6 separate regions of the Homo sapiens genome follow, and regions 1, 2, 4, 5 and 6 are each linked to region 3. The links are contacts of gene promoters, found by promoter capture Hi-C in human tissues and cell types (Jung and others, 2019). All regions are on one chromosome and are shown on one strand. The core of a region is centred on a gene start or on the middle of the fragment in contact, and the rest is flanking DNA. Distances in the headings are between cores, read along the strand shown.

Region 1 (3,135 bases), core at 112-2,611, 230 kb before region 3:
TGAGAAGAAGGCCTCTTCAGAGAAGCTTCTGTGGATCTGCACTGCCTCCTTGATTCTCTACTTCCCATTCACCAGCATAATTTGAGCAACAGCAAGGCATCTATTGCCTTGTTGGCATGATGTGAGAGAGGGGGAAAGAATAGTGGGAGATGACATTGGAGCAGTAAAAGCATGCACCCTGATTTTGCACATGTTGAGCCTGACAGTCTGCAACACTCTTTTTTTTTTTTTTTTTTTTTGAGACGGAGTCTTGCTCTGTCGCCCAGGCTGGAGTGCAGTGGCACAATCTTGGCTCACTGCTACCTCCACCTCCCGGATTCAAGTGGTTCTTCTGCCTCAGCCTCCAGAGTAGCTGGGACTACAGGCATGCGCTACCACACCTGGCTAATTTTTGTATTTTTAGTAGAGAGGGAGTTTCACCATATTGGCCACGTTGGTCTCAAACTCCTGACCTCGTGATCCGCCCGCCTTGGCCTCCCAAAGTGCTAGGATTACAGGCGTGAGCCACCACGCCTGGCCATTCTGCAGCACTCTTATAGCTATTCATATGGCTTTTTCTCTCATCTCTTTCAGTTCAGAGGACTGAAATTTCTTCTTCTCAGCAAGACCTTCCCTGACCACACCATATTTAAATTGCAGCCTTCTCCCTGCCAGTGGTACTCTCTACCCCTCTTATTTTCTTCCATAGTGCTGATTGCTGTCTGACCTGCTGTACTGTATGTTTCACTATTTTTTTTTTTTTGTTTAACTTTTGAGACAAGTTCTCACTCTGTCACTCAGGCTAGAGTGCAGTGGCATGATTACAACTCACTGTGTGGCCTTGACCTCCTAGGCTCAGTTGATCCTTCTGCTTCAGCCTCTCGAGTAGCTGAGACCACGGGCATGCGCCACCATGCCCAGCTAATTTTCTTGTTTTTTATAGAGATGGAGGGCTCACTATGTAACCCAGGCTGGTCTTGAACTCCTGGACTTAAGCAGTCTCCCCACCTCAGCCTCCCCAAGTGCTGGTATGACAGGCGTGAGCCACTGCACCTGGCCCTCTTTATTGGCTGTTTCCTTCTAGTAGGATATTTGCTGCATGAGGGAAAGGATTGCTGTCTGTTCTACTCCCTGCTGTATTCCCAGAGCAAAGACAGTGCCTAGTATATAGCAGACCTTCAGTAACTATTTGTTGAATGAATAAATGGATGTGTATGTATTCTAAAATAGTAACATAAAATGAGATGGTCAGTTTAGTTCTAAGAATACATTTAAAGAATAGTAGCATAAAAACACTATCCTAGTTATGTGAATACACAATGAGATAGAGTTGGGTATGTGTACGAGTTTTGGGGTAGGGGGAGAGGAGAGAGGTATTGGGGTAGTTTTTGGTATATTCTTAATATAAATATATTAATCTGTATATGTGACTGATTTTGGATTTGCTAATAACAGGCAAATTTTTAAAAACTATGTTCATGTCTCTTTATAATTCTGGGCTTTCAAATAATTCAGCATGTATAGTCTTATGAATACCTAATAACTTCTCTTCATATCAAAACACCTATCAGATTTATTCTTTGACTTTGCACAAAGCACTGTTGCTGTTCTTTAATATCTATCAGGAATCTACAATATACTAGACTCTTGACTAAAAGAACATACTGTGTTTTCTTATCTTGCAATTACTGTTTGTAGGCTAAGTTTTTGTCAGGAAAATTGGGATTCATCTTATTCATGGAGTTTTGTTCTCCCTAGACACAGGTGATGGGAGGGAATAATATTTGAGGTTGTTTGATTTTGCAGTAGGCACCACTAGCAACTTGACCCCTGCTCTATCTGACTGCCTTCTATTGCCCTTTTGGCCTGCAAGCCCTTGCCCAGATTCTTGGGCTGTTCCTTTTGGGAAAGTCACCACACAGCACAATGCCTTACCAAGAAAGCCGCAAGATTTCCCCAGCTCGGTTGGCTGTTCAGTGCCCCCATTTTCAGCCATGCCAGAAAGTGGAACGGAGGAATCTGAGGCAGTAATCATATCAGGAAATCAGCTTTTGGCAAGTAAGACAACAAATATGAAGAAAAAAGAAATATCCAGCACACAGCAAATCTTTAAATGTCTCCAGTTGCTGTCAGATAACCCATGTTAAAAGATTACTTTATGTCTTTCTGCATCCTTCTTCTTATTAATACATGTATTCACAGATATATAGATTGGGCACGGTGGCCCATGCCTGCAATCCCAGCACTTTGGGAAACCAAGGTGGGCAGATTACAAGGTCAGGAGTTCAAGACTCCTGTCTCTACTAAAAATACAAAATTAGCTGGGCGTGGTGGCAGGCACCTGTAGTCCCATCTACTTGGGAGGTTGATGCAGGAGAATTGCTTGAATCTGGGAGGCGGAGGTTGCAGTGAGCCGAGATTGTGCCACTGCGCTCCAGCCTGGGCGACAGAGCAAGACTCCGTCTCAAAAAAAAAAAAAAAAAAAATTTGTTTTTATGTAGAGAGAATTTGAAGCTTGTTTTTTTAATTTGAAAGCATAAAATAGTAGATATAGCTTGATTTCTTTGCTTTTTTTCAAAATGTCTTTATTTAAATGGGATCCTGTAATTTTACCTACATGAAATATGTGCTTTTCAAAAAAAAAAGTTGGTTTTTTGGTTTATTATTATTTTATTCTGTGCCACTCCTCTCCTCTGTCATTGTCCCATCTCTATCCCTTGATGCTTGTAAATTACCTGATAGGTATCCTTTTGTGATTTTCTCCATATCTGTATATCTGTATCTGTTCACATCTGGAACATTTCAACTGGTATTTTTGAGGAGCTCTCACCTCACTGAGAATAAGACAAAAGAAATTTAAACCTATAAGTAGTTTGTAAAAAATTCAGGGAATGATCTGTAAGGTAATTTATGACCAGGTGCTACTTTGTATAATGCCCATCATATGGAAGAGTTAGGGAAGGCAGAGGTCAGGTGGGGAGTCATAGGGCTTCTGAAAGGTGCACAGTTTGGATGAGCAACAGGATTAATAGGGATTACAGAGTAATAATGTTCATAGTTTACTAAACAAAGCAGAAATAGTGAGCTATTCTGCATATAAAAATGATACTAAAGGATCTTTTGAGATTCTTACTTCCCAAAACAGTCTTGAATCTT
Region 2 (3,207 bases), core at 253-2,752, 180 kb before region 3:
CTTGGCAGTCTCTTTTTTTCTATGTCCAGTTAATTCTTGTCATTCATCTCATTGGGTGTTTTCAAACTTCCCCAACTCTTCTCTGGTTTACGTTACAACCCCCATTTCCTACTCAATTATCTCCTCTCATTTACTTGGAAAAATAGGGACAATAGGCCGGACTTCTGGTAGACTTTGTGCCCTTGTATGTATCTCTGTGCGCATACTGCTGTGGTCTCTCAGCCTCCTTCCCTGCAGTCGCCAAGGAAGAGGTCTTTCTCTTGTAGTTCCCCACTAATCCTTCCACCTGCGTGCCTGATTATGTCCTTCCTGCTTCCTTTGAGCCCTAATTCTATCAGTTACTCCCTTTCCTGTATTTTTATCCTTTTCATCCCTACTGGCTCCTAGAAAATATGCTCAAGTTTCTGCTTTTTATTTATTTTATTTAACAAAAGCTTTCTCCAACTCTAACTTTTTTTATTGCCAGGTTTCTACCCAGAGTAGACTATATTTGCAACATCCACTTCACAAATTAGCTGGAACTGCCCATACCAAAGCCACCGACTGCAATTTAAATTGCTGTCTTACCTACTCCTCCATTAATGACACAGCTCAAGCCCTCACCTAGAACACTGCAGATGTTTCTTGACTCATCCTCCCTGTCTTCAGTCTTCCTTTTTCCAATTCATCTTTCCCACCACTGCAGGGTGATCTTTTAAAATACTCTTATGACAATATTACTCCTCTGTCCTTAAATCCCTTCAAAAAATCAACATTACCCACAAGTTGAAAAATTAAACTCCATAGAAGGGCATATGAAGCCACTAATGGTTTGATCTCTGGCTCTCCAGTTTTATCTGCTCCTGGTCTGTTATTGAGTCCTACCTATAGATCCAAAAGTAAGGTGCTATTTCACACTTCTAAGACTTTTCTATTCAGTGTCCTCTAGTGGAGTAGTATTTCCTTGTATCCCTAGAGATCTCCTCCTTAACTTTCAAAGACTGTGATCCAGCATCCTCACCAGGCTTTACCTGACTTCTTTTCCCATCTTCTATTCCTTCTGAACCTATTAATATTATACTACCATGATAAAGTTGACCTTTTCTTGGTGTTTTTACTATACAGTTTATGGATATTGCCATTTTTTTGTACAATTTATTGTAGATATTTGTTTTGAATGTTTGCCTCCCTTTCTAGACAGATCTCATTGTTGGGTAAGGAGCCATTTAACCGATCTTGACATCTGCCACACCTGGCATAGTGCCTTGCACATAACAAGGGCTCCTAAATGTTTGTAGAATGAGTGAATTTTAGCAAATATTAATTGGTTGTTCTTCTATAAGATCAGCATTATACTTTTAAATTTAGATAATAAGTTTTGGATTGGATGTGTTTAGTATCACTGAACTTAGTGCTGGATGCTGTGTCATACAGTTTCAAGGCAATCTAAAGAATAGGGAAGATAAATTTGTAGCTAGTGACTTAATAAGATGGTCTGTACGAATATGTAGGTCTTTTGTTCATATTGTCAAGTGTACCAGCTCATCCATGCATTCCTTTTTTAGTCAAATTGTACTAAACAGAGAAAAGATTTCCTGAGATGTATGATCCTTTTTCTCCTTGGCTTCTAATCTATCTTTCCTTCATTGCCATATAGCTGCCAGAGGACTTCATATACAATGAAAATCTGATGATTTACTTTTCTCTTTATACCTCTTCAGTTCTTCTTTCCATTCACCTATATTCTCATCACTTTGTCTCCTACTTTACCAAATTTGAAGTCTTGTTATTGAGTAGACTTCTTTTGAGAGTTTGTGGTCACTTACAGAACTGCTCTGCATCCCCTTTGTACCTGCAGCTGATAACACTCACTATTCCCTACTCCAAGCATGTGGGTTCAACAGGATAAACATAACAGCACATTGGTAATGTTTATGTTAAATAAGCCAGTCTTGTCCAAGCATCTGCTGCACAGGCGCAGAAACAGATAAGTTGTTTCAGCAATTGGCTGCCAGGGGAACAGAAGGGTTGCCACAACAAAGTCAGCAAACAACCCCCAAAAGTCTCTAAGAAGTGTGAACTCATGCTGCTGGAAAATAAAAATCAGTCAAAAATTTGTACATTTTGATGCTTGACCTTGACTTTGTTTCTCACATCCCTATGTAGAGATAGGACTATTTTCTGCAGCAATTGGGTTATCTTTAGATGAGTACATTTCAGATTCACTCAGCTTTTGAAGGAAAGTGTATTTGAAATCTCCCTGTTCTCTGGAAAGTTGCTTTGTCGTATAGTTGGATTGTACTCCCTTTGGAAGCTTTGTCTTTTTGACTGACTTTGATAAGGTCAGCTCCAAGGAAACCCAGCATCCTCTTTTCCCTGGCGCCACTGGGCCCGCCACCCTCTCCTCTGCTTCCTCACCCTCCCTTCCTTACCACCTCTCTATCCGTCACTTGAACTGGCTGCCAGCGTTCACAGACAGCTGGGGAGAGAGTGGCTAAATCTGCCCAGCTGCCCGGGAAGCTTGGCAGCCAGGCTGAGGGAAGGAAGCATCGGCTCTCTTTGAAGGTCGGCTGCCAGTGAATCTCAGGCAGCTGGACTTCAAAGGGGGGCACCGCCGGGCTTTCCCTCCCGTCTAGGCAGGTCATTCCACGGCGCTGTGCTTCCGGTGTTGGCATGGTGGCTTTCCTCTTCAATTAAAAGCTGAATTGGGATCTGCACTTGTGTTCACACTTGTGTTTCTTATGTGACATAGACAGCCTAAGATCCCCAACTCCTGTTACCCCAGACTTAGGAGTTAAAGATAAAGAAGAAAAGGTGATATCATATAAAGGGCAACTAAGGAGATCTACAGCAGCGAGTGTGTTTTCCTTATTGCCAGTTAGTAACTGTGCTATTTGCCAAGTTTTAAATTACTTTAGGGACTCTTGGTGTGATCTTGAATAAAGGCCAATCAGCTTGTGCTTATGGACTCAGTTTAGCTATGGCCTGAGATTGGGTCTAGCAACGGATGATAATTTTATCTGTTTTCAGAAACTGTGGTAGTGCTAATAGAACCCACTATTCTACACCTAACTCTTGCTTTACTTCCCTACTTTTCACATTCAGATTCCGTTGGTGGTTGGTGACAGGACTGGCCTAGCAAGGGAAGAACAAGGGTGCTGCACAAACAGAGTCTAGGCTCACTTTAGTTGCAAATGAGGGTCAGAGCAGAGGTAGCCTGAAATCAGA
Region 3 (3,059 bases), core at 372-2,871:
TTGAAATACCTAAGCATATATTCCAAACACTGAGCAAGAGTCGAGCGCGTTCTAACATCTCCGCAGCAGGGGCCGGAAGAGTTGCCTTTGTCCCCGCCTATGAGCAGAAGGGTCGCGAGCTCTGGGATGGGTAAGCCCCCCGGGGGCGCGCACATGGGTCCTGGCGGCGGATTCTACCAAAGCCGAAACTAGCTGGGCCCCAGGAAGCTGGCGGGAACCCGCGAAAGTCCGTTTCCAGCCCGAAGAGGGTTCGTTTTTCTTCGTTGGGGCAGGAAACAAACCACCAGTGCGGAATTAGCCTCGAGGTGGTGTAAAGTAGTGGCAGTGGTGGTGGGGTGTTTTTGGAAGGCGGCACAGAGTACAGGAGAAAAAGGGGTCATTAAAATAATAACCTCAATGGCCTAGTGGAGTCTCAAGAATACGTTCGAGACAGAGATTTGAATCCAGGACTGGCAAGAAAGCCCCTCTCCTAACCTCGACGGGGATGGTTAGTTGGGGTGGAGGGCGTTAGGAACGTGCAGGCAACCGGGTGAGGAATGTAGCTTTGCCAGACCTCGCCCGGAGGAGGTGAGCCCTCCATTTTTAGGTTCTCAGCACCTTTGCAGCAGCCCCTCCCCCGGCCTGCGCTTTTCCTTGGCACAGATCAAAACAAGCTCAATAGTAAGTTGCACTCTTGGCAATGATAGTATCTCTGCACGTCCAGAGAGGACACATTTCGACGGCGGTGGGTTCGAAGATGACCCAAGCCCTGAATCGTTCTGTGACTTGACGGAAGAGCACCTGGCCGAGTCGGGGAAGGAAACTGCCCCTCTTGGGCATTCCGGGTCCAGGCGCATCTGGGGCTCCACAGATCTTTGCCCACGTGGAAAAGGCAACATGCCCCTCCGAAAGGCCGGCCTCTCTCCGGTTCTACTTTTCTCTCTCCTCGCATAGCTTAGGTTCCCTCTAGTCTTTCCACTTTCTACTCTCACCGTTTGCTCTGGGGTCCAGACGCACCCCTCTGACTAGGGCGCCCTTCAGCCGGCCGCACCCACCCGCGACGCAGGCACCACCCGCTCCCTGCTCCCCGGCCCGCTCCCTCACTTACCTCGGATCGGGTCTCCGCAGACCCTAGGTTGGACATTAACTCCAGGTGCCCCAAGTCCCAGCCAGGAGACCCATCCGGGCTGATGGCTGGAGCGCGGAGCCCCGCCCAACAGGTCAGGGGCAAGAGTTCGCAATCCTGGGGTCGCGCGGGGCAGCAAGGGCGCGCTGGAGGCGGCGGCCAAGACTCCCGCCGCCGCCGCCGCCAACAGGGCGAGGGCTGCCGGCAACTCTCCCGCCGGGCCCCCGCACCCCCAGAAGCCGAGGTCCGAGCAGCCGCCGCTGCTTTGGGTGGGGGGCTGACAGGGCTGCGCGCGTCGCGCTCTTGGCTGGGGCTGCGCGGGCCCGGGGCGCTGCGGGCGGCTCAGCGGCAGCTGCCGCGCTCTGCGCCTCCTCTGGGCGCACTGCCTGGGAGCACGAGACTGGTTTGTCTGATGCTGCTGCCGGAGCTGAGGTCTTGCCTGGAGATCCGAACGAGACACCACGTCAACCGGCGCGGGGAGTCCCGTGAAGACATGAGGGCGCCAGGAGCGCAGGCTGGTCTTCTAGAGCCCGGGCTGGGGGTCCGGGGTCCGGGGTGGGGGAGGGGAGGCGCGGGGCCCCGGGAGGGAGGGGTCGGGAGGCGTCGGCTGGGCCTGGCGGTGGGGGAGGAGAGGAGAGCAGCGAGGAGGCCCTGGAGTTCCCGAGGCGGGGGGCCGGGGTGCGAGTGGGCGACGCGAGGCGCCCCTCCCTGGGCTGCAGGGAGAGCGCTGAGAGCGCGGAGACGCCGCGGGGCTAGCGCCTTCTCCTCTCCGGGTGGATCAAAAATCGAGAGGAATGTGCGGCGCTCTGCGCGGGCCAGCCGAAAGGGGCAATCCGAACTTGACCGCGGCGCCCGCGCCGGGCTTTGCCCCCGCGCGCCGCACTGGGAGGGTGGCGCTCTGCCGGTGCAGGGCAGCGCCGGGCTTTCCTCGCGCCTGTCGAAGGCCGGCCTTCCCGCTCGGGTGTCTCGCCCTCTCGCTTCTCCGCAGGGCAGGAGGCAGTGGCGAGAAAAGGAGCTGCCGGCCGGAGTTCTAGCACCGAGAAGGAGAGGTGCGGAGCGGCCGGGTGAGGGAAGCCGAGTATTTGCCAGGGGACGCTGCGAGTGGGGATGAATTTATAGGGCTCTCACTCCGTGACGTGCCCTCCAGTGGCTTTTCTGATTCGCTTTCTGACCTAAACACACATTAGTTTAGTCCCCATGCTAAGGCCAACACGGTCTCCAAATATCTGCTGGCTGAAGTCAGAGGCTTTGCATATCATGTATTACATGGCAGGCAATGAAGAAGGCTTCTGAGGCTGGCCGGCTCCTCAGTCCTAGGCTCCATTTTCATGCTGTTGTAATCTAATACCAGACATGGGGCAGGCACATACATTCAAAATCCCAATTCCAGAGGCGTAAGATCACTTTATCAGGAACGGGTTAGGGGAGGTTGAGCTAAACCTGCTTTTATCCAGATTTTCGAAAATGCAGATGGGAAACTTCAGCAAGCGCCCACTTGGATGCTGAGTTTCCAGCGATCAGGGGCCCGGCCCCCATTCCAGAGCTCTGTGGATGGGAGAGGTGAGACCTTCTGGGCATTCCTTTTGTTGGTTAGTTCACCACCAGAAGCTGCCTGAGCCTTCTTTTGTAGAGGACAGGAGGAGGGCAAGTCCTTACACACCCTGTGCATGGCTATAACCATAAATACATTTCATTCACATGGGGCATGGAATTGGCTGTACCTCTAAAATAATGTACTAAATAGGGCATGTCTTTGCTAAGCAGAAACCTGTTTTCCGGAAGCCATTGGACCTGAATTCAGTGGGACCTCTTTTATTTTATTAGCTGGGGCCAGGGAAAGTGTAAACAGGCTCAGTTTACGTCCATGTACCTCTTATTTTATGACTCATCCGGTTGTTGGGGAGTATGTGTTCTTCAAGTAGCTGATACAGACAATAGGCAGGGGAAATGCGTG
Region 4 (3,179 bases), core at 625-3,124, 190 kb after region 3:
AGTGATAATTTTTACCTCCATCTTAATTATGAACATTTTAAGCTAAGGGAGCTAAGGGAGACAGACTCATAAGTATCAAATTGGTTTTCTTTGTTCCTATACCCAGATTTTCATATGGTCAAAATACCCATGGAATATATGAGTGGCAGCAGTAAACAATCCTTGAAGTTCTTGCTTGTTTAACTTGACTGTTGGTGATGCCCAATGAGGCCCTGTCTGCTCCAAGCAAATTACATAAAAAAGATGTGAATAAAAACTCATCAAATACTAACAGAGGTGAGATCTGGGAGGAGTGGAATTACATTTATGGTCTGTTTGTTTTCTTTTTCTTACTTTTCTGAATTTTTATACAGTGAGTATATGTGTGTATGTGTGTGTGTATTTTAAGTTTTTGTTTACAAAAGAGATAAGTACATATGTTTGTTTTTTTAAAAAATCAAGCTATAAAGAAGTGTATAGAGTAAAATACATAAGTTTTTTTTATTCATCCTCTAACCACACTCTGCTTTCTAGAGATCATAATTGGTTTGTGTGTAAATTTCCAGACCTTTTCTCTGTTTTACCTGTGTAATTGTTAACATCATATTGAAAGCATGAGATTCCATACAGTACAGGTAGAAAACAGTTTCCCCTTGCTGTCTCTATAACTATAATATGCAGATTCATTCTCACACTCTTGGACAATCATGTAGAATAACAACTCTTCCAGTCCCTTCAAGTCCCACCCATCACCCCAGGCACTCTGGCTCTTGGTGCATCTAGTGGGTTCCCGCGGCTTGTGGGCAGCCGCTGACAGATGCAGGTGCTGGCTGGGGAGAGTAAAAGCTTGCCCTCCACCCAGTAGGTGTGTGTGTGTGAATGTGATCAAGAGATAGGAAGGTTATGGGTGGAGTGTTGTCAACCTCTCTACAGGTGGGGCCCTTTTCAAGACCATCCTGGCTGGCTCCCTTGCATATGGCCTAAGGGCAAGACTGATGCACTCTGGCTCCTGCTGCTGGGAGATGTGCAGTCTGCTGCACTGCAGCTCTCTCAGTACCTGGGCCTGTCTGCTGCACTGCAGCTCTCTCAGTGCCTGGGCCTCCGCACGCAATTTGCAGCCTCTTGCTAGTAGACGATCTTTGGTCTTGAATCAAGTGCCAGTCTACACTTGGCAGACTCCAGCATTCAGGGAGATCTCCTTGAAACCTCTCTTACTTAGAAAGAGGTAAAGGTGGAAACACCACCACACCCTGAAAAATCATTCCAAAGGAATTCTTTCAGCATTTTCAGTTTCAGTCCTTTTATAGCCTTGAGGCGAGTGATGGGCTAATGGTTGCAGTTGTCTCCTTTGCAAGTCCTGTCTAGGTGGTCTAGAAACTCATTTTAAAATGTGAGACCACTAATTGCCTCTTGCTTTGTTCTGGGTCTTCTGGGGCCTTAGACAAAGCTGAAAAAGAGTCTCCTTTTCACATTTTGTTATAGACCTAGGTAAATCATTGTTTTTCCATAAGTTGGAACATATTAATATTCTGTAAGTTGCTGTCTTAATTGTCAATATATCAGTCTTTTCATATCGGAAGATGTTGAACTGTCTCATTCTTTTTAATGGCAGTGTATTGGGTAGATAAACTAGTCCATTGGGTAGGTAAACCAGAGTTTATGTAACCATTTCTCTTTTGATAGGCTAATTCTAATTTTTGGCTTTTACAAGTAATGCCACTATAAATAATTTTTAAATTCACATGAGTGTGTCTGTGTGTGTGTCTGTGTGTGTGTGTGTGTGTGTGTGTATATACATGAAGTGTAGCCAAAGGTAGGTACTAGAAAAATTTTGCTAGATACTACCAAAGTGACTCCAGGAGAGTTGTATGAATTTCTGCTTTCTTCAGCAGTGCTTAAGAGTGAACATTTCCCCACACCCTCACTACATATTTTCATTGTTTTTAATCTTTGCCGTTTTAGAGGCTAACAGTGACCTTGTTATTTTATTCTATTATTTTCTTGATTACTAATAAGGTGAGATATTTTTTCTCACTTTTGTCCATTTGTATCTGTGCTCCGTGAATTGCCTATCACATATCCTTCATCCAGTTTGGGGTTCTGGGTCTTTCTCAGCACCTTGTAGTTTAAATAAGGAGAAGATGTCAAAATAATGAAGCAAAGACAGATTGTAGTGACTTGCTGAGAACCCTGGTCCCACTCCATGGGGACAAGAAATGGTGGAAGTTCTACGGCTCAGACTATATCACTTGTTCCCCTCAAAACTGTTTGCAAGTCTGAATCTGAAACATAGGCTAAGTCTTCTCTTCCTTCAAACTGACAAATATACTTTTATTAATAAAATTTTAGCCAATTCCTTGTATTTGACTGAGAGCGTGTACAAACTTATTTTGAATCTGAAGCCTAATGGGTTGTATTTATGCCTCTTTGTCTCTTCTTAATTCTACACATATTAAAAATTACTAAAGCCATATTGGATTTCAAGAAAAAAACCAAAGGAGATTTTTCAGAGCACCTAGCAGCCATGGCAACATGCCTTTACAAGGGGCATGTACTCTGTTAAAAAATATTCCACTTACAGGTAATGACAGACATTTGCCAAACAGCCCCAAGCTAACCCAAGAAAGAATGGGCAGATGGTTTGAGGTGTGTCAGGAATAGGATTTACAAAATAAGATTATGGTTATGCTGGAAAGTAACAGCAATGGTTGTAAACAAATGGAACAGACCTACTTTTTGCCACGGGGCAGAGGAAGAAAGGGGTTTTGCATTGCTGCTTGTGAACTAGTGTTGGCTCACTTAGATACACAGCTCTCTGGGATTTTATGTATGTTGTTAGGCACTTGTATAAGACACATGACTGGGCCTCCAATTGAGTTTCTTCTGATCTGAAGCAGGGAAACTTCATTCTAGTTCTAGAAGCCCCTGCTGGTGTTGGCCCTGTCTTGGTTGTGTCTGGCAAATGAATCTGCATCCTTCTCCACGTGAATTTAACTATCATACCAGTTACGAACTATCAGTTGAGAAGACACTGGAGAGAACCAGCCTGTTTATTCCTGAATGTATATTTTTGACTGTGGGAATTAGAGTTATAACAGAGGAAGGTACAGAACACCTCCCAATATGATTGATCTATTTGCTCATCAGCCCAAATCCTGGACCTTGAAGTGGTAATGAATGAGTCTGCCTCTGCCCTGAAT
Region 5 (3,331 bases), core at 18-2,517, 230 kb after region 3:
TGCAATACACACACGCACACATACACACACATGCACACATACATTATTTTCCATATATATTCCTTTCCATATTCTCTGCCAAAAAATGCAGGAAAAGTCATTGCCAAATTGTGTTAGGCTGTTCATTGGAAGGAAGCACAGCCTTTCTTGGGGTGGAAGCAGACAGGGGATGAGGCTCTTGGGGTCTGGCAAATCTTTCCAGTTAAGGCAGTTAGTTATTCATGGTCTGATCCAGGCAGTGCAAGTTCAAATTCTGGCCATGTCTGTACAGTTTCAAAAACAAAGCAAAGCAAAGCGAAAATGGTGATCAACTCCTTGTTTTCCAAAATTGTTCCTAGTGAGCGTGGATCTGAGCTTTGAGTATGCAGTTGGGCTTCAGGAAAGAATTGTTGAGATGTTGCTGGATCAGTTCTGCAAGCCAGTTGCCACTAGAGGAGTCTTTGTGATAACCTCTAGGAACATACAGCTTGGAAGAAACTTAATAAATATCGTCTGTGTTTACTTGAAGTTTACCCCTTTGTTTAGTCCCTAACCGTATGGAGACAGGTGAAAGTTTGGGCAGGACATAGGAGGCTGAACATAGACATGGTGTTGCTATGTTCCTGGCTTAACTCATAAATGGATAAAATAATGAAGTGAACAACTAGTTGAATCAGTTACTCCATAACTGTGAAAGTGCATTGAATTATGACAATACATGATATTATGCTTCTGCTGATGGAGTTATGGAATGGCTGTGGATTGAAATCCAAGTTATAACTTTATTTGAAGCATTAAGGGTAAATAATTTTAATTGGAAAAATTCGGAGCACAAATACTATCCAGTGAATTTGTTCGGCATACACACTCAGTAACTTTAGACCGAGATCCTTTCCTTCTTTGAAATTAGTATTAGAAACCTTTGGGCACAATTTAAAAGAACTCAGAAACCTTCTTTCCAGTTCTTTGGTACATTGTTATTTTTCTTAATTTATGTGGGGAGTATAGAGTATATTAATTAAAAGCTGCAATTGACTAGATCTAGACCAGCTGTCAGATCTTGGGAAAAGGTCACATCCAAAGCATTCTCCTTTGCTTTAAGCTTTAGACTCAATGCAGAAGCATGCAGGAGTGGGAAGGAAGATGAATCCATTCAAATCATCGAAATTTGAGTACCATTCTGCTCAGAATGTTTTAGCCAAATGAATGCATCTGGTTGTCATTGGCCAATGGGTTTGGTCCCAAGATAGGCTATACCCAAAAATAAGGCTATGCCACCAATGGCTGTTATACCAAAACACAGTGGGATTGTGTCCAGGAACTGAGCTCCTGGTGCCCCTCAAGCCAGCTTTGAAATGGCTCTGTGGTAACTGCTGTTGTCTAGGGCCCTTAGCTTATTAATGTTACAGGGTTGAGCACAACAAAGTCTCTATGCCTTTGCCAAGAGCAAGACGGTTGCTATGGGAGAGGCAGTCTGAGGAGAGGCTCCTAGCTCCTGCAGAATCTTCCAAGGGAAGGCTGATTAGATTTGACGTACCATTGTCCTCTAGAAACCTAATAAGATGCACATTTTTTTCCAGTAAGTGAGACAACTGTAGAATCCACATTTCATAGTTGTTCAAAAGGAGATTTCACACACACGAGTGAGTAAATTCATAACTAATAGCCCTTTGGGGGGAAAATTATATTTTCAATTACCATACTCACATGGTCTTTCACTTAATCTTGGACACTGTTGTTGGAACTGGGCTAGACGCCAGTTCTCAAAATAGCATAAATTGGAAATATTTAGGCAAGCCTTGTGATATACACTAGGTGTGTTTGGTTATTGTAACACATTTTCCTTTAGTGCTTTCAAAGTATGTATGATGGATTACGGGGTTTGAGATTATTATAGTAGGTGTCACTTCCCTTATACGACATAGCTGGGCTGGAGGTCACAGGAATCGGAACTCACTACTAGCAAAATCAGGTTATATATGACTAATTTGGGGATTGTGCTCAAAAATAACAAAACCTTTAAGTGGCCTAGAACGCATAAACATTTACTTCATCTGTAAAAGGGGGAGGGTTGATCTTTAAAGTTATTTGCAGCTCTAATATTGTATAACAGATAATTTTCAGCCCGTTAATTTCAGATTGTCTGTGAAACAGGGAAACTAATGACCACTACCTTGGGCATCAACCTGAGCATTGACATGAGGATTAAATGAATTAATGTATGAAAATTACCTACGTTGGTGCCTGGCTCAGGAAGTATTAGAGGCTGCGATTACTGTTTTTATTGGTATGTATTTTGAGACTTCCTTGAAACCAACACTACAGATCCTGCACTGTGTATTCTATCTGTAGTGCTTTACGTGCAGCCTGATAGAAAGCATACATTTCTTCCAATAATGTTGCTATTGCTCAGTTATCTCTGATTTGTCTCTAAAATGAAGACAATTGCAGATAGAATTAAATCAATTGAGAAGGGGTATATGAAATACTTTGTAAATAAAACAGGACAATTCAAATACAACAAAAAGTTTTGCGTTGGCTGTTGCTAGCACAGATACCCCCACATTGAAATCTCTCCAATATTCACTTGTTATAAAATGTAGGTTTTATTATTATTCAGGTATGGTGAGGCCAGCAGATCAGGAGACAAATGCCATTGAAAAGATAATTCGTGGCCAGGTGCGGTGGCTCACACCTGTAATCCTGGCACTTTGGGAGGCTGAGGTGGGCAGATCACCTGAGGTCAGGAGTTTGAGACCAGCCTGGCTAACATGGTGAAACCCATCTCTACTAAAAGTACAAAAATTAGCTGGGCGTGGTGGTGGGTGCCTGTAATTCCAGCTACTCAGGAGGCTAAGGCAAGAGAATCGCTTGAACCCAGGAGGCAGAGGTTGCAGTGAGCCGAGATCACACCATTGCACTCCAGCCTGGGCAACAAGAGTGAGACTCCGTCTCAAAAAAAGAAAAAAGGAAAGATAGTTTGTTACAGTTCCAAGAGGAGAGGGCACACCATATCACGCAGGGCCCCATGGGGCAGATGGAACAGGGGAAAGCATGGGTCAGAGCCTCTTCCGTGTTTTTTCTGGAAGGGATGGGCAAGGCAGGGTAAGCAGACTAGGTGGGTTTAGGATTTGCTAGTTTGAATGATTTCTGTGTGCTCTGAGGTACAGGGCCTGCCACTAGCTGCCCAGTATCTGGCCTGGGGTAATTAGGGCAGAGGATAGGCTTAACCTGCCAGAGCTCAGTAAAGGAGGCAGTTGGTAGGTGTGGGCTCTGGATTGGTTGGTTTGTGTGTGAGAGATGCACTCCCAGGGGAGTCATCTGCTTTCTCCAGGAATTAGGTACCCCTGGG
Region 6 (3,425 bases), core at 316-2,815, 140 kb after region 3:
TTTTTTGTTTTTGTTTTTTTTTGAGACAGGGTCTCATGTCTCATTCTGTCACCAAAGCTGGAGTGCAGTGATGCCATCTTGGCTCACTGCAACCTCCACTTCCTGGGCTAAAGCCATCCTCCCACCTCAGTCTCCTGAGTAGCTGGGACTACAGGCACGTACAATACACCCAGCAAATTTTTGTATTTTTTGTAGAGACAGGGTTTTGTCATGTTGGTCAGCCTCTTCTCCAATTTCTGGGCTCAAGTGATCTGCCAGGCTTGGCTTCCCAAAGTGCTGGGATTATAGGCATGAGCCACTGTGCCCAGTGACAAAGGTGTTTCTGATGTAACAGTCTATAGACAGATGAGCAGTCCAGAGTGGAGAGGTGGCTCTGCTCTCTAAGTTTAGCCAGGAACTAGATTTCTTTTGTTTTGTGGTTCTGCCATGCCTTAGGTTGTTGTCCTTATCTCCCTTGTTGAAGCTGGCTCACCATTTTGTTTACTTTGCAGCCTTTAGGAAGGGGGAAACAGCAAGTGGAGAAGAAGCTTCCTTTTTAATGACATGACCTGGAAGTTGCAAATATGTCTTCAACTCATATCCAATTGGCGAGAGCCTAGCTGCAAGAGAAGCTGGAAACATCTCTAGCTGTGTGGCCATATTCTGGGGCTTCTGCACTTTCTTTTATGAGAAGGAATGAGATTGGAACTATAAGGCCTGATAAAATTTGGAAGTTATCATTTATTTAACAATCACCAGGTACCGAGGGCCTGCTGTTTTCCTCATAGTCTTATAGTCCAGTTGGAAAGATAGACAATTAAATAGAAATTTAAAATAAAGTGTGAAGATGTTGTATTGGGGAAACAAAGTACTGTAAGAACACAGGGCAGGAGAACCTAACCTAGTCTAGCGACAAAAGGATCTGCAAGACCTTCCTGGGGGCATTGATGCTACGCTGAGAATTCTGTGGAAGGTATTGTTTGGGTAAACAGTGGAAATTTTCAAAGGGTGGGGATCAGAGACAATGTGTTTTCTAAGAAATCTTCCAAAGACAGAAGTCATTTTACATGGCTGCTGCAAGAAATCTTACCCCAAGGCAGGAGCAAAGGGAAAGCTATGTAGAATTTATCGAGAAAGGAAGAAGGATTACTGAGCTGGAAAGAAATTTTCTTGGCACCAGTCTTATAGCAAAGTATAGAGTCATGATGAGCCCCAGATTCTGGTCATCTACAGTGATTTGAAACATGGACGTGGTTATTGTTTGGCCACAAGCACCAATAAATCGATCAAGCTTTTCAACAAGAATTAGAATATTCCTATAATTATCCATTAATCACGTCTTTTGGAAAGGTAGGAAGTGGTAGGGATCACATCTGTTTGGTTGTTTGGCAACAAAGTATTAGCTCTCCTAGTGTTTATCTGGTGTTTACTAAAAAAAATGTTGTAAGTTTGAGTCATGATGAAATCTATTTTATTTGGAGAGTTGCTTTTGAGAATGGATAGCAAATTGTCCCAGGGAAAAAACATGATCAGGAAAAAAATATCGTAAGATAATGTTTGGGTAGGAGTAGAGGAACTTACTTGAATGTTTCTTGCTAGTTTGGAACAAAACATCTAATCTTTTCCTACTTTGAAACAGGATATCTCCCTTTTGGTGTAAATATTTTATTAGGTTTTGGTTAAAGGATGGATTCTGAGCTACCACATAATTTTAATTTGACTTTTCTTTCTTTCTTTTTTTTTTTTTGAGACGGAGTCTCTCTCTGTCACCCAGGCTGGAGTGCAGTGGCGCGATCTTGGCTTGCTGCAAGCTCCGCCTCCCGGGTTCACGCCATTCTCCTGCCTCAGCCTCCTGAGTAGCTGGGACTACAGGCACCCGCCACTGCGCCCAACTAATTTTTTGTATTTTTAGTAGAGACGGGGTTTCACCGTGGTCTCGATCTCCTGACCTTTCTTAAGATTATTCATGTACAAGCACTTATTGAGTACCTGTCATGGTTAAGTGCTGCTAGGTATTGCTGGGAGTGGCAGGCCCTGGGTGTTGCTAGACACTAGGTGTTAAGGCTCTGATGTTGAAAAATGTAAGCCCGGTTCAGACAAAATAGAGACAGTGCTGGAAATTGAAGCACATTACACTTCAGCTTTACTTCTGAAATGCTGTATGTCTTTGGCTAGTTATTCATCTTTTCTCCTGTAAAATTCCTTCTGTATAATAAGAATGATCATAGTATTGTCCTTTCCCTTTTCCCGCTTCATTTCTACCCTGTGGCCAAATTCCACCATTTCCAGTTCTATCACTGTAGCTAGGATATCTTTCATATTGGACAAAACCAAGTATAAAACACCAAGAGTTTCCATTCTAAGACTGTTTTGAGAAGAATGACTCAAAGTATTTAATGGAAGGAGAGGTAGCTTCTTCATCACAGACCTTTTATAATTTTTTTTTTTTTGAGACGGAGACTTACTCTGTTGCCCAGGCTGGAGTGTGTAGTGGCGTGATCGTGGCTAACTGCAAACTTCACCTCCTGGGTTCAAGCAATTCTCCTGCCTCAGCCTCTGGAGTAGCTGGGACTACAGGCGCCCGCCATCATGCCTGGCTAATTTTTGTATTTTTGGTAGGGACAAGGTTTCACTATGTTGGCCAGGCTGGCCTTGAACTCCTGACCTCAGATGATCTACCTGCCTTGGCCTCCCAAAGTGCTGGGATTACAGGCGTGAGCCACCACACCCTGCTGGTTACTGTGTTTTTTTGTTTGTTTGTTTGTTTGAACGGAGTTTCGCTGCGTTGCCCAGGCTGGAGTGCAGTGGCGTGATCTTGGCTCACTGCAGCCTCTGCCCACTGGGTTCAAGCAATTCTCCTACCTCAGCCTCCCAAGTAGCTGGAATTACAGGTGCCCACCACCACACCCAGCTAGACCCTTCACGTTTTTACTCAAAAGATATCAACTTAGGTATCTCTTGGAGTTCAGTGTCAAACTGAGGCCATTTCCATTGTCACACACATCAGACACATACTAAGTAGAAGAATGGAATGTAGGAAGGTAATTTCTCCCAGCATCTGACAGGAGTAGTGACATGGAGTGGGTCTTAATGTTCATGATGATTATATGCTAGGCACTGTGTTGCATCTATTACCCAATTTTGTATAATGAACCACCCAACAGTCAAGCATTATTATTCCTATTATGTGGATGAGGAGGTTGAGGGCCAGAGAGTCTATGTACCAGCTGATCAAGTGCAGAGCAGGATCCAAACCCACATTTCCACATCTCCCAACTCCAATGACCATGCTGCCTCTCCTTAAAGTGTTTGTCCTCGAACCATTGAAATTCAGACACCTCATTAGCTTGGTTGGGTTAGCCCTGTTCCTTTTAGGAATTCAGGGTGGGTAAATTTAGGAATTTGGATGAGTAAACTTCTCCAAGGCTGGGGCAAAAAGAGACAGA

What was found. Contacts are between HindIII fragments. The study calls those that stand out against the background at their distance.
Region 1: a fragment that was not itself captured here is called in contact with the fragment with the promoter of GDNF in region 3 in 1 of the 25 tissues and cell types used here (IMR-90 fibroblasts).
Region 2: a fragment that was not itself captured here is called in contact with the fragment with the promoter of GDNF in region 3 in 1 of the 25 tissues and cell types used here (IMR-90 fibroblasts).
Region 4: a contact is called between a fragment that was not itself captured here and the fragment with the promoter of GDNF in region 3, in 1 of the 25 tissues and cell types used here (IMR-90 fibroblasts).
Region 5: a contact is called between a fragment that was not itself captured here and the fragment with the promoter of GDNF in region 3, in 2 of the 25 tissues and cell types used here (H1 embryonic stem cells and IMR-90 fibroblasts).
Region 6: a contact is called between a fragment that was not itself captured here and the fragment with the promoter of GDNF in region 3, in 1 of the 25 tissues and cell types used here (mesenchymal stem cells).

What each region holds. Positions count from the first base shown.
Region 1 is chr5:37,607,821-37,610,955 of GRCh38, forward strand. The region is part of intron 10 of WDR70 (WD repeat domain 70); the gene reads left to right. Among named protein-coding and RNA genes, the nearest start is that of WDR70, 230 kb to the left of the region's middle. The HindIII fragment of the contact is 4,194 bases long and covers 1-3,135 here.
Region 2 is chr5:37,663,522-37,666,728 of GRCh38, forward strand. All of the region lies in intron 10 of WDR70 (WD repeat domain 70), which reads left to right. Among named protein-coding and RNA genes, the nearest start is that of GDNF-AS1, 170 kb to the right of the region's middle. RefSeq lists a silencer at 2,246-2,540. The HindIII fragment of the contact is 3,863 bases long and covers 1-3,207 here.
Region 3 is chr5:37,838,420-37,841,478 of GRCh38, forward strand. GDNF (glial cell derived neurotrophic factor) reads right to left here and starts at 1,622. Exons shown (of 3, transcript NM_000514.4): 1 at 1,088-1,622. It overlaps GDNF-AS1 (GDNF antisense RNA 1), which reads left to right and starts at 1,465. Exons shown (of 4, transcript NR_145476.1): 1 at 1,465-1,619. RefSeq lists an enhancer at 546-1,483. The HindIII fragment of the contact is 15,271 bases long and covers 1-3,059 here.
Region 4 is chr5:38,028,781-38,031,959 of GRCh38, forward strand. It overlaps LINC02107 (long intergenic non-protein coding RNA 2107), which reads left to right. Exons shown (of 3, transcript NR_147009.1): 2 at 107-276. Among named protein-coding and RNA genes, the nearest start is that of LINC02107, 4.7 kb to the left of the region's middle. The HindIII fragment of the contact is 3,779 bases long and covers 1-3,179 here.
Region 5 is chr5:38,070,585-38,073,915 of GRCh38, forward strand. The region is part of intron 2 of LINC02107 (long intergenic non-protein coding RNA 2107); the gene reads left to right. Among named protein-coding and RNA genes, the nearest start is that of LINC02107, 47 kb to the left of the region's middle. The HindIII fragment of the contact is 4,321 bases long and covers 1-3,331 here.
Region 6 is chr5:37,980,237-37,983,661 of GRCh38, forward strand. No RefSeq gene overlaps it. Among named protein-coding and RNA genes, the nearest start is that of LINC02110, 33 kb to the left of the region's middle. The HindIII fragment of the contact is 3,548 bases long and covers 1-3,339 here.